Regions from separate parts of the Homo sapiens genome. Here all the other regions are linked to region 2. Evidence: promoter capture Hi-C in 16 types of primary human blood cells and fetal thymus (Javierre and others, 2016). All regions are on one chromosome and are shown on one strand. The core of a region is centred on a gene start or on the middle of the fragment in contact, and the rest is flanking DNA. Distances in the headings are between cores, read along the strand shown.

Region 1 (3,166 bases), core at 566-3,065, about 26 Mb after region 2:
AAGCACAGAGATGCTAAACATATTGCCTAAATCACTTCTCTGGATCCTGCTGTCTCCTTCCAAACTTAGAGGAAAAAAAAAAAAGGATTCCACTTACACCCAGGTTTACTACATAACCCAGGTTTTTCTGACTAATGACATATAATCAGGTATTATTTTGTCATATGTGAATGCTAAATGCCATTCCCTCTCCAAGCGCTATAGCAAGGGCACTTCACCTTTACATTATCATGACACTTTGTGAAATCTAAAAAACTAAGGAATCCTCACCCTCTAAAAAAAAAGGCACATATGTGAATGTTCATAGCAGCATTATTCATAATAGCCAAAGAGTGGTAAACCACCCAAATGTTCACCAACTGATGGATAAACAAATTGTGGTATATTCATATAATGGAGTATCATTTAATCATAAAAAGGAAAGATCCCACACGGATGAACCTTGAAAACATGCTAAATGAAATGAGTCACAAAATGACCACATATTGTATGATAATGAAATGTCCAGAATAGACATTTTTTATATGTAATGTGCAGAATGGGCAAACCATTAGAAATAGAAAGTAGATTAATGATTGTCTAGGGCTTTGGGTGGGTTGGGTGAAAATGGGGAGTGACTGTTTAATGGGCATGAGGTTTCTTGCTGGGGTGATGACAAATGTTCTAAAACTGTGGTGATGAATGCACAGCTGTGAACATACTTAAAACCACTGAATTATACACTTTAAATTCTTGAACTGTATGGTCTGTGAATTATATCTCAATAAAGATGTTATTTAAAAACAACTATTAAAAATCTTCATATGAGTAAAATTTCCCAGTTAATTTATGAGGGTTTGTTAAAGCCCTGAACCCATCTACTGGTACGAGGGAGTCGAAGACCCAAGCGTAGTAACTTCTGCTCTATAGAAACAAGAATCATCATCTATTTTTCTTTGTTGTATATGTAAGATTTATTTTGGCTGCCCCTACCCTACCACAACTACAGCAAACCTATGCCTCCTATTTTTTAGGATCACTATTTTGTCTATTAGATAACATAACCACAGTAGTTTTCAATATTGATTCATTAAAAAGAGTAAAATAGTATAGTTTCATAAATATAATTTTAAGAGCTACAAAAAAACTCTAGTAATTGAGCATCTATTATTTGCAAGGCATGGCCGGCATTCAAAAATGTAAAAGATTTCTGCCTTCAAGATGTCATAGGCAGGATAAGATCTATACAAAAATAACAATATACGAAAAAGAAGGTGAATCTTGCATTAAAAAGACCAGGGAAGATAAGCCAGGAATAATGATTAAAGGGAAGCTTCTTGGCAGAGGTGGACAATTATTTAATGCTGTGTTTCACCCTGAAGAATAAGTATCCTGAACGTACATAAAGGAGACACAGGGAATTCCAGATGAGAGCAGAAACAGATATGTTTCAGAATTGTTCCTAGGAACTATGAAGAAGGGCCTTCATCCCAAGCTAAGGGGGCCAGGCATGGTGGCTCACACCTGTAATCCCAACATTTTAGGAGGCCGAGGCACGAGGATTGCTTGAGGCCAGGAGTTCAAGACCATCGTGGACAATATAGCAAGACCTCCATCTCTACAAAAAAATAAAAAATTAGCCGGGGGGCAGTGCCATGTCCCTGTAGTCCCAGCTACTCAGGAGGCTAAGGCAGGAGGATTACTTGAGCCCAGAAGTATGAGGGTACAGTAAGCTGTGATCTCACCACTGCACTCCAGCCTGGGTGACAGAGAAAGATCCTGTCTCAAAAATATCAATCAAGCTAAGGATCCTGGACTTTATTTGGTAGGCTCTGAGAAGCCAAAGAAGGTTGCTGAGTAGGGCAATTACTGAATCAAAGATGTATGTTATGAAGATTGATTGTACAGTAATGTATGGGTGCATGTGGAAGAGAGGAAAAACTGCAAGCAGAGAAACAGTATTATTACAATAGTGTAAGACAAGGTTTCTAGAGTCTGGTTTAGGGAGTGGCATCTGTCATTCAGTAGCCATTTTTAAAAGATCAAGGCATGTCCCCCCAACCCCTGCCACTAAAAAAGGGGTGTTTTGATATGCTGCTCATTTAAAGTGCTGCCAATAAAGAAAATAGCTGTAGTTCATCATGGTACATATTTCCCTGGAGAAAACCCATTTACAACGTAGGTTTAGAAATTTCAAAATTACATTTTAACATGAAGTTCTGGCTACATTGGTTTGTGGGATTAGGAAGGGCCAAAGGCTCCTTTAGGCTCCCTTTGATCCATTAACTATGTTCTGTGAGTTTACAGTGAAAAATGATAAGAGTTGGACGATAAGCTTTCATGTGATCAAGTAAACCTGAACTCCAAGACTAAAAGACCTTGTTTGCAGTAGCAAATACTAAAGGGTCAGGGCCTGAATAGAATTTCCTTGAAATTGCTTTATTTCTATTTATGAACCTGAGGTGATTGGTGGTAGTGCATAACCTTGGATAGTAACCATTTCTGGGTTATAGGTTTACCATGTGGACAAGCACTGCCCACATAGTATAGGGGAGTTTACCTGCCTGGAATGGCCAAGGAGTTGTCTTTCCTGGGAGAGACAAAGAGCCCAGAGGCTACCTAAAGTCTTCCTCCCCACCCAAAGTGATGTTAGACACCGGAACTTGGAAAGAGAAGGTTGGCGTTCGAGTTACACGACACACACACACACACACACACACACACACACACACACACACCAAATAAAAGGTCTTACCCCAATCTCCAAAGTTTGCCAAGGCCAAGAACACTGTCTCTTAGCCCTTTTACTTCCAATCCCCGCCCACAGCCTGCAAGACCCTCCACTTCCCTTTCCCCTTCCGCTCTTGGCTTACTTGTCACGGATGATGGTCTGTAGCTCCCGTATCTGATCATTCATAGGCAGCAGCTTAAGCTGCGCCCCGATCTGCCGGGAGAGTTCGCAGTCCTCTAGGAAGGAGTTGCCAGCTGGTGCGTCATAGCTGCTACTGTCACCACTACCACTGTTGCCCTCTGAGTTGAGGCTGGAGCCGCCGCAGGCCCCAGAGTCCAGCTCGGCCGGCAGGCTAGAATGGGCGTACCCCGTGAGGAGAATCACCTTGGCCCTGGAGGCTCTGTTTCCCCCTGCGTGGTCCAGGATCAGATCGCCAGGTCGCAGCTGCTCGGGACT
Region 2 (3,673 bases), core at 626-3,125:
TGAAACCCCGTCTCTACTAAAAATACAAAAAATTAGCCAGGCGTGGTGGCAGGCACCTGTAGTCCCAACTACTCAGGAGACTGAGGCAGGACAATGGCGTGAACCCGGGAGGTGGAGCTTGCAGTGAGCCGAGATCATGCCACTGCACTCCAGCCTGGGCGACAGGGCAAGACTCCGTCTCAAAAAAAAAAAAAACTGAAGAAAAGAGGAGGGAAGATGAATGCCTGTGGCCAACCCTCAGGCAGGTGAGTGGAACAGCTATTGGGGGTGACTAGCGAAAGGATAGACGTTGTCAATAAAGTAAGGCAATCATACAACACATGCTGTCCATCTGTCTTGTGCAAATGTGAGTATCAACCACTCTATCATCAGTCTACAAATACTTTAAATGTTTTTATTTAAAGTCCTGTTGATGGCTGGGAGAGGTGGCTCACTCCTGTAATCCCTGCATTTTGGGAGGCCAAGGCAGGAGTATCGCTTGAGCCCAGGAGTTTGAGACCAGCCTGGGCAACATAGTGAAACCCCATCTCTACAAAAAGTAGAAAAATTAGCCCAGCACAGTGATGTGTGCCTATAGTCCCAGGTACTAGGGTGACTGAGGTGAGAGGATCACTTGAGCCCAGGAGGTGGAGGCTGCAGTGAGCCATGATCACGCCACTGCACTCCAACCTGGGCTTCAGAGCAAGACCCTGTCTCAAAAAAAAAAAAAAAAAAAAAAGGTCCCAGGGCCTGTTGGGGCTTGGGGGTGAGGGGAGGGATCTTAGAGGATGGGTCAATAGGTGCAGCAAATCACCATGTCACACATATACCTATGTAACAAACTTGCACCTTCTGCACATATACCCCATTTTTTTTGTTTGCTTGTTTGTTTGTTTTTTAGACAAAATAAAGAAAAAAAAATAAGGTCCTGTTGACTTAAAACTTCGGATGAAATTGTAGTGGGACCTGTGATCTGTTTCTACATTAGGATACAGTGCCTTGGGGCAAGGAAATATGGCAGTGCCCGAGGTGTCAAGGTGGGCAGGCAGATCAGTCAGCAGGGGCTCCACCATCATGGTCTGCATTCAATACTGGCTGCATTTCCTAGGAGAATCCCTGGGGGAATCATTGCAGTTGGAGCATAATGTAGGGGGCCCCTGAGAAAACCTCCAGGCTTCAAGTGACATACCTAGTCTGCTTTACCGGTTTACAGGACTCAAGAGAAAGGTGGACATTGAGAGTTAATCCCTGAGGCCAAATCTTAAATGGAGAAAGTCAACATCCACAGAAAATGGGGAAGGGCACAAGTATTTCTGTGGGCTTATATTCCGACATTTTTATCTGTAGGGGAAAAATGCTTTCTTAGAAAATGACTCAGCACGGGGAAGTCTTGTCTCTACCTCTGTCTTGTTTTGTCCTTTGGGGTCCCTTCACTATCAAGTTCAACTGTGTGTCCCTGAGACTCCTCTGCCCCGGAGGACAGGAGACTCGAAAAACGCTCTTCCTGGCCAGTCTCTTTGCTCTGTGTCTGCCAGCCCCCAGCATCTCTCCTCTTTCCTGTAAGCCCCTCTCCCTGTGCTGACTGTCTTCATAGTACTTTAGGTATGTTGTCCCTTTACCTCTGGGAGGATAGCTTGATGACCTGTCTGCTCAGGCCAGCCCCATCTAGAGTCTCAGTGGCCCCAGTCATGTTGAGAAAGGTTCTTTCAAAGATAGACTCAAGATAGTAGTGTCAGAGGTCCCAAGCAAATGAAGGGCGGGGACAGTTGAGGGGGTGGAATAGGGACGGCAGCAGGGAACCAGATAGCATGCTGCTGAGAAGAAAAAAAGACATTGGTTTAGGTCAGGAAGCAAAAAAAGGGAACTGAGTGGCTGTGAAAGGGTGGGGTTTGCTCAGACTGTCCTTCCTCTCTGGACTGTAAGAATATGTCTCCAGGGCCAGTGTCTGCTGCGATCGAGTCCCACCTTCCAAGTCCTGGCATCTCAATGCATCTGGGAAGCTACCTGCATTAAGTCAGGACTGAGGTGGGTCTGGGGTATGGCAGGGGCTGGGCAGCAGCAGCAATGTACCTTGCTTGGGACCCCTAAAAACCAGAGAGACAGCATGGCTGGTGCCATTTATCAGCTAGTGGAGGAGGCTGACGGAGGGTGGGAGTGTCATCAGCACAAGGCCCTGGCAGTCCCTTCTGGTGATTAGAGAGGCCGAAAGGGTCCTTTCCGACAAGGGCTGAGGGTGGGCGGAACAGGAAGAGAAAAATGTGACATGAGGTGACCATCCGAACAGGTAGCAAATGTTAGAAAGGGGTACCTCTGGCAAACTTAGTGGAAAAGTAATATTGCAGGGAGCAGTCAGATAAAAACAAGCCCTTCTGTCAAATAGTGCTTGAAGACTCAATAGGGATACATGGGTCAATGAAGCCTTTAGAAAAAGAAATACTAAGAGGCAGATTCTCTGAGAACATGGTAAAAGCTCACGCTCCACGTTATGAAGTTGACCTTTGTGAGCTAGGGAAAGGCCTGGCTAGGCCAGGGTGTAGGCTACCTGCCTTGAGCTGTACCAGGCCAAATGTCGCCAGGGTCAGAGCTGGCTTATTAAAGGACTGTGTGGAAGCTGTGCCAACCTCGTGGTAACAATGGGTAAAAGACTGGGCCAGGAGAAAGCAGCCTCTGCCTCAGCCCAGACAGTGCGGCCAACCCTTGAGGTTGTGGCAAAGGTTTCTCCTCTTACCATTGCCCTCCATGTGCATGGCTTGCTTTTCTCTTGTCTTCATTATTTCTCCTTTCCTTTCCTCCTCTCCAACCTCCTCCTCTTCCCACTCATCCTCTTTTCTCTACCTATATCCCCTCTTCATTATACCCTCCTCTGTTCTGTTGATTACCAGACCCTGACATACAGTTAGCACTTAACAAATAATTGCCGAATTGCATTGACTTTTTCTTGCTCCTTTCTTCCCCCGCTCTTTTCCCTTTTCCTTTCCCTTTCCATTTCCTCCTCCCTGCCTGCCTAGCACCTTCCCCATAAGGTGGTTGTGAGCAGTAAATGTGCAAATACATGTAAAGCTTTTAAAACAGGGCCTGGCAATAGTAAGTGCTGGATCTCAGTATTTGCTATAATTTTTACTCTGCCTCAGACCTGCCAATGTCCCCCAGAGGGCCTACCTAGAGCAAATAATATGACATTTAGAATAAAAGTGATTGGTGACCCCAATCAAGACATCCTTGGATAAGTTGCCCAGACTCCAGCCTCTCTGGAGCCTCAGTTATTTGATAAAATAATGTCACTTTCCAAATAAGCCACAAAATGCAAATACTCATGGCAACCTAAAGCATTATACCCAAACAGTGTCCCTTAGGGCTTGTCCTGTCTATTCTGACTCCTTTTATATTCAAACTATTTAAACTGCTTGCTTGTGTTGAAGTCCAAATTTCCATTGCGTATGGCTATTGATATTTTTGTTTGGAATTTTTTTTTTTTTTTTTTGACACGGAGTTTCACTCTTGCTGCCCAGGCTGGAGTGCAATGGCACGATCTCGGGATCTCAGCTCACCGCAACCTCCGCCTCCCGGGTTCAAACAATTCTCCTGCCTCAGCCTCCCAAGTAGCTGGGATTACAGGCATGTGCCACCACGCCCAGCTAATTTTGTATTTCTAGTAGAGACGGGGTTTCTCCATGTTGGTCAGGCTGGTCTCGAA
Region 3 (3,636 bases), core at 52-2,551, about 30 Mb after region 2:
TATCCCTTCTGTAATCAATTACAGTGGTTGCAGACATCATGAGTACTCCTTTGGCACAGAGCTCGGTCTTTTACTTCCTGCCCCTAATTGACCCCTGACCTGGACATATCTGTCTTTAGGCCTGGAGTGGTGTGTCTAAGGGACTGGCTGAGAGTCTGCAGCCAGACTACAGTGAACGACTCTGCCTCGTCAGTGAGATTCCCCCAAAAGGAGGGGCCCTTGGGGAGGGGCCTGGGGCCTCCCCATGCAACCAGCATAGCCCCTACTGGGCCCCCCCATGTTACACCCTAAAGCCTGAAACCTGAACCCCAATCCTCTGACAGAAGAACCCCAGGGTCCTGTAGCCCTAAGTGGTACTAACTTTCCTTCATTCAACCCACCTGCGTCTCATACTCACCTCACCCCACTGTGGCTGATTTGGAATTTTGTGCCCCCATGTAAGCACCCCTTCATTTGGCATTCCCCACTTGAGAATTACCCTTTTGCCCCGAACATGTTTTTCTTCTCCCTCAGTCTGGCCCTTCCTTTTCGCAGGATTCTTCCTCCCTCCCTCTTTCCCTCCCTTCCTCTTTCCATCTACCCTCCGATTGTTCCTGAACCGATGAGAAATAAAGTTTCTGTTGATAATCATCAAAAATGTCTGTCATGGGGGTGGGGAGCAGGGGAAGCCTGGGATGCAATGAGGGTGGGAGGGGAAGAAAAAGGAGTAGTACATTCATGCTGTGGAGGCAGGAGTATTACCAATTTGCTAGAAAGAGTACTGTTCTGGAAACTGACTTTTTTCCAGGTGCCCTGCACTCATTCCAGGGTTTAGTTTAGAGTTAGACTTACAATGGGCTGGGCGTGGTGGCTCACGCCTGTAATCCCAGCACTTTGGGAGGCCAAAGCGGGTGGATCACGAGGTCAGGAGATCGAGACCAGCCTGGCCAACATGGTGAAACCCCGTCTCTACTAAAAATACAAAAATTAGCCAGGCGTGATGGTGTGCTCCTGTAATTCCAGCTACTTGGGAGGCTGAGGCAGGAGAATCGCTTGAACCCAGGAGGTAGAGGATGCAGTGAGCCAAGATTGTGCCACTGCACTCCAGCCTGGGCGACAGAGGGAGACTCCATCTAAAAAAATAAAAAAAATAAAAAAAGTTAGACTTACCATGTTGTCCCCCCTTTCCAACTAATCTTTAACATACCCCACCCAAGTTTTTCTCTCCTTACCCTTACTCCACTTTTTGGCCACACCTGCCACTTCTGACCTCATAATCCCTTAACTGCAGTCTCAGGCCCCACCCCTGGGGATACTGGTTATCCACAACTATCAACAGCTCTCTCCTGCCTGTCCAGCCTGGGCATCCTCAGCCTATGAAATCCATCTGCCTCTCTAGTCCACCAACCCTATAGGCCTATTTGCCCCACACAAGGCCTCTAGAACACCCTCCTTCTGCATGACTCATCAGGGCACTTTGTGAAGAGTGAGGCGATCTTGAGGGCATGTTCATCTTCATCAAACATGGAGGTGAGGGGCAGCACAGAACTAGAGTCTGTGGATGGGGGTGGAGGGATCTGAGGGCAGTGGAGATCACAGAAATGGGCCCATGTGTCCCATCCTATCTCTTCTCAGATAATCAGCAGTTTCTGGTCAATACCAACTGTGCTGTCGTCGTGTTGCTGTATTACATCCGCAGTAAAGTAAAGTTGCCTAAAACAAGTGAGGAGCTTAGGGAGGGGACTAATGGCCAAAGGTCAGAAGGAGTTGGGTCATCTCTAACCCCCAAGCCCTCCTCCTGGCAAGAAGGGAGTTCCTCATATCCTTAGAGCTTCCTCCAACCCATTTTGTATAGGATCACTGGCCCCTTTTGCTCCCACTCTCTTTCCTTAGCTGCCCCAATTACCCTGTGATCTCCCTCCAGACACCATCGATTTGTGTGAACAAACGGGGAAAATGAAGATGCTTTTCCTGATGAAGCCCAATCATGCAGAGTATGCCAGCAAATACCTTACAGCTCGAAGCACCTACTACGTTTGTAAGGTGGAACGTGGGCCACCAGGTAGAGGCTCAGGAGTGTTCCCCAGAAATAGAATAAGGCCTTCAAGATAGATTATGAACCTTATCTTTAAAACAAGGCATCCAAGGCTGGGCATAGTGGCTCATGCTTGTAATCTCAGCACTTTGAGAGGCCAAGGCGGGAGAATCGATAGAGGGCAGGAGTTTGAGACCAGCCTGGGCAACATAACAAGAGCCTGCCTCCAAAACCAAAACCAAAACCAAAAACAACCAAAACCAAATTAAAACAAAAAACAGAACACCCTCAAACAACAGAACACCCTCAACCAGATCCAAATTGACCATCTCTAGTCAGCCTAAGGAAGGGTACTGCCTCTATAATAATAGGTTACCTCACACATACTCTCCCCTAGGTCCATACCTAAGGGGAAGAAATATCCACCAGCTCAAGGTAGGTTTTTTTTTTTTTTTTTTTGGGACAGAGTTTCGCTCTTGTTGTCCAGTTGTCCAGGCTGGAGTGCAATGGCGCGATCTCAGCTCACTGCAACCTCTGCCTCCCAGGTTCAAGCGATTCTCCTGTCTTAGCCTCCTGAGTAGCTGGGACTACAGGCACCCGCCACCAGGCCCAACTAATTTTTTAGTGCAGATGGGGTTTCACCATGTTGGCCAAGCTGGTCTTGAACTCCTGACCTCAGGTGATCCACCCACCTCAGCCTCCCAAAGTGCTGGGATTACAGGCGTGAGCCACTGTGCCCGGCAAGGTAGTCTTTATTTTTATTTATTTATTTATTTTATTTTTTGTGATGGAGTCTTGCTCTGTCACCCAGGCTGAAACAGTGGCATGATCTTGGCTCACTGCAACCTCTGCCTCCTGGGTTCAAGTGATTCTCCTGCCTCAGCCTCCGGAGTAGCTGGGATTACAGGCGCCCACCACCATGCCCAGCTAATTTTTTTTGTTTGTTTGTATTTTTGGTAGAGATGGGGTTTCACCAAATTGGCCAGGCTAGTCTCGAATTGGCCAGGCTAGTCTGGAACTCCTGACCTCAAGTGATCCGCCCACCTTGGCCTCCCAAAATGCTGGGATTACAGGCGTGAGCCACCGCATCTGGCGGGTAGTCTTTAGTGTTAGGTCCTGGAATCTTGGACTTCTGAAGGGTGGAGACTGGATGACAGGGGCTGGAGATAGCACATGGCTATGTTCACAGGAACCAGGCTGGAGAATGCTTACAGAGCTTTTGTGCCTCTCCTCAAGAATCCGGAGCCTTGGCTGCTTGGTAAGAAGTGAGATGGGGGAGGGAAGAACATGAAGGGTACAGTATATAGCTGTGTGATGGAGAATGTAGGGTGGGACTAGCGTGATATGGTAGGTCAGATGATAGGAGCCTAGGAAAAGGCGGGCAGGGTCCAGGTCCACTTTAGGAGGGACGTTTAGCTCACACCAGGTGGAATGTGCATGCGTTACTCCCCACTTCCCCCATTTCTTGGCCATCTTCTCCGTATATCTCCCTGTCACCATTCCATCATTTCCATCTTAGGCCAAGTGGGGCTCCAGCTGATGGTTTGAACAATGAATGGGAGCATCAGGAAGGGTAAGGTCTCTAGTTCTCAGAGGTGCAGGTGCCTTTTCCTTGTTCTTAG

What was found. Contacts are between HindIII fragments. The CHiCAGO score rates a contact against its expected background, and 5 or more counts as called.
Region 1: a contact is called between a fragment that was not itself captured here and the fragment with the promoter of BTK in region 2, in 1 of 17 cell types (monocytes). The highest score is 5.4, in monocytes.
Region 3: a contact is called between the fragment with the promoter of CXorf65 here and the fragment with the promoter of BTK in region 2, in 1 of 17 cell types (total B cells). The highest score is 5.3, in total B cells.

Annotation. Positions count from the first base shown.
Region 1 is chrX:75,274,327-75,277,492 of GRCh38, reverse strand. It overlaps UPRT (uracil phosphoribosyltransferase homolog), which reads right to left. Exons shown (of 7, transcript NM_145052.4): 1 at 2,853-3,166. Among named protein-coding and RNA genes, the nearest start is that of UPRT, 1.8 kb to the right of the region's middle. RefSeq lists an enhancer at 3,028-3,166. The HindIII fragment of the contact is 1,002 bases long and covers 1,315-2,316 here.
Region 2 is chrX:101,384,393-101,388,065 of GRCh38, reverse strand. BTK (Bruton tyrosine kinase) reads left to right here and starts at 1,875. Exons shown (of 19, transcript NM_000061.3): 1 at 1,875-2,004. RefSeq lists an enhancer at 2,389-2,608. The HindIII fragment of the contact is 7,609 bases long and covers 1-3,041 here.
Region 3 is chrX:71,104,405-71,108,040 of GRCh38, reverse strand. It overlaps CXorf65 (chromosome X open reading frame 65), which reads left to right and starts at 1,301. Exons shown (of 6, transcript NM_001025265.3): 1 at 1,301-1,509; 2 at 1,615-1,701; 3 at 1,904-2,041; 4 at 3,204-3,272. The coding sequence starts at 1,485. It overlaps IL2RG (interleukin 2 receptor subunit gamma), which reads left to right. Exons shown (of 8, transcript NM_000206.3): 8 at 120-637. The coding sequence ends at 305. The HindIII fragment of the contact is 6,290 bases long and covers 1-3,636 here.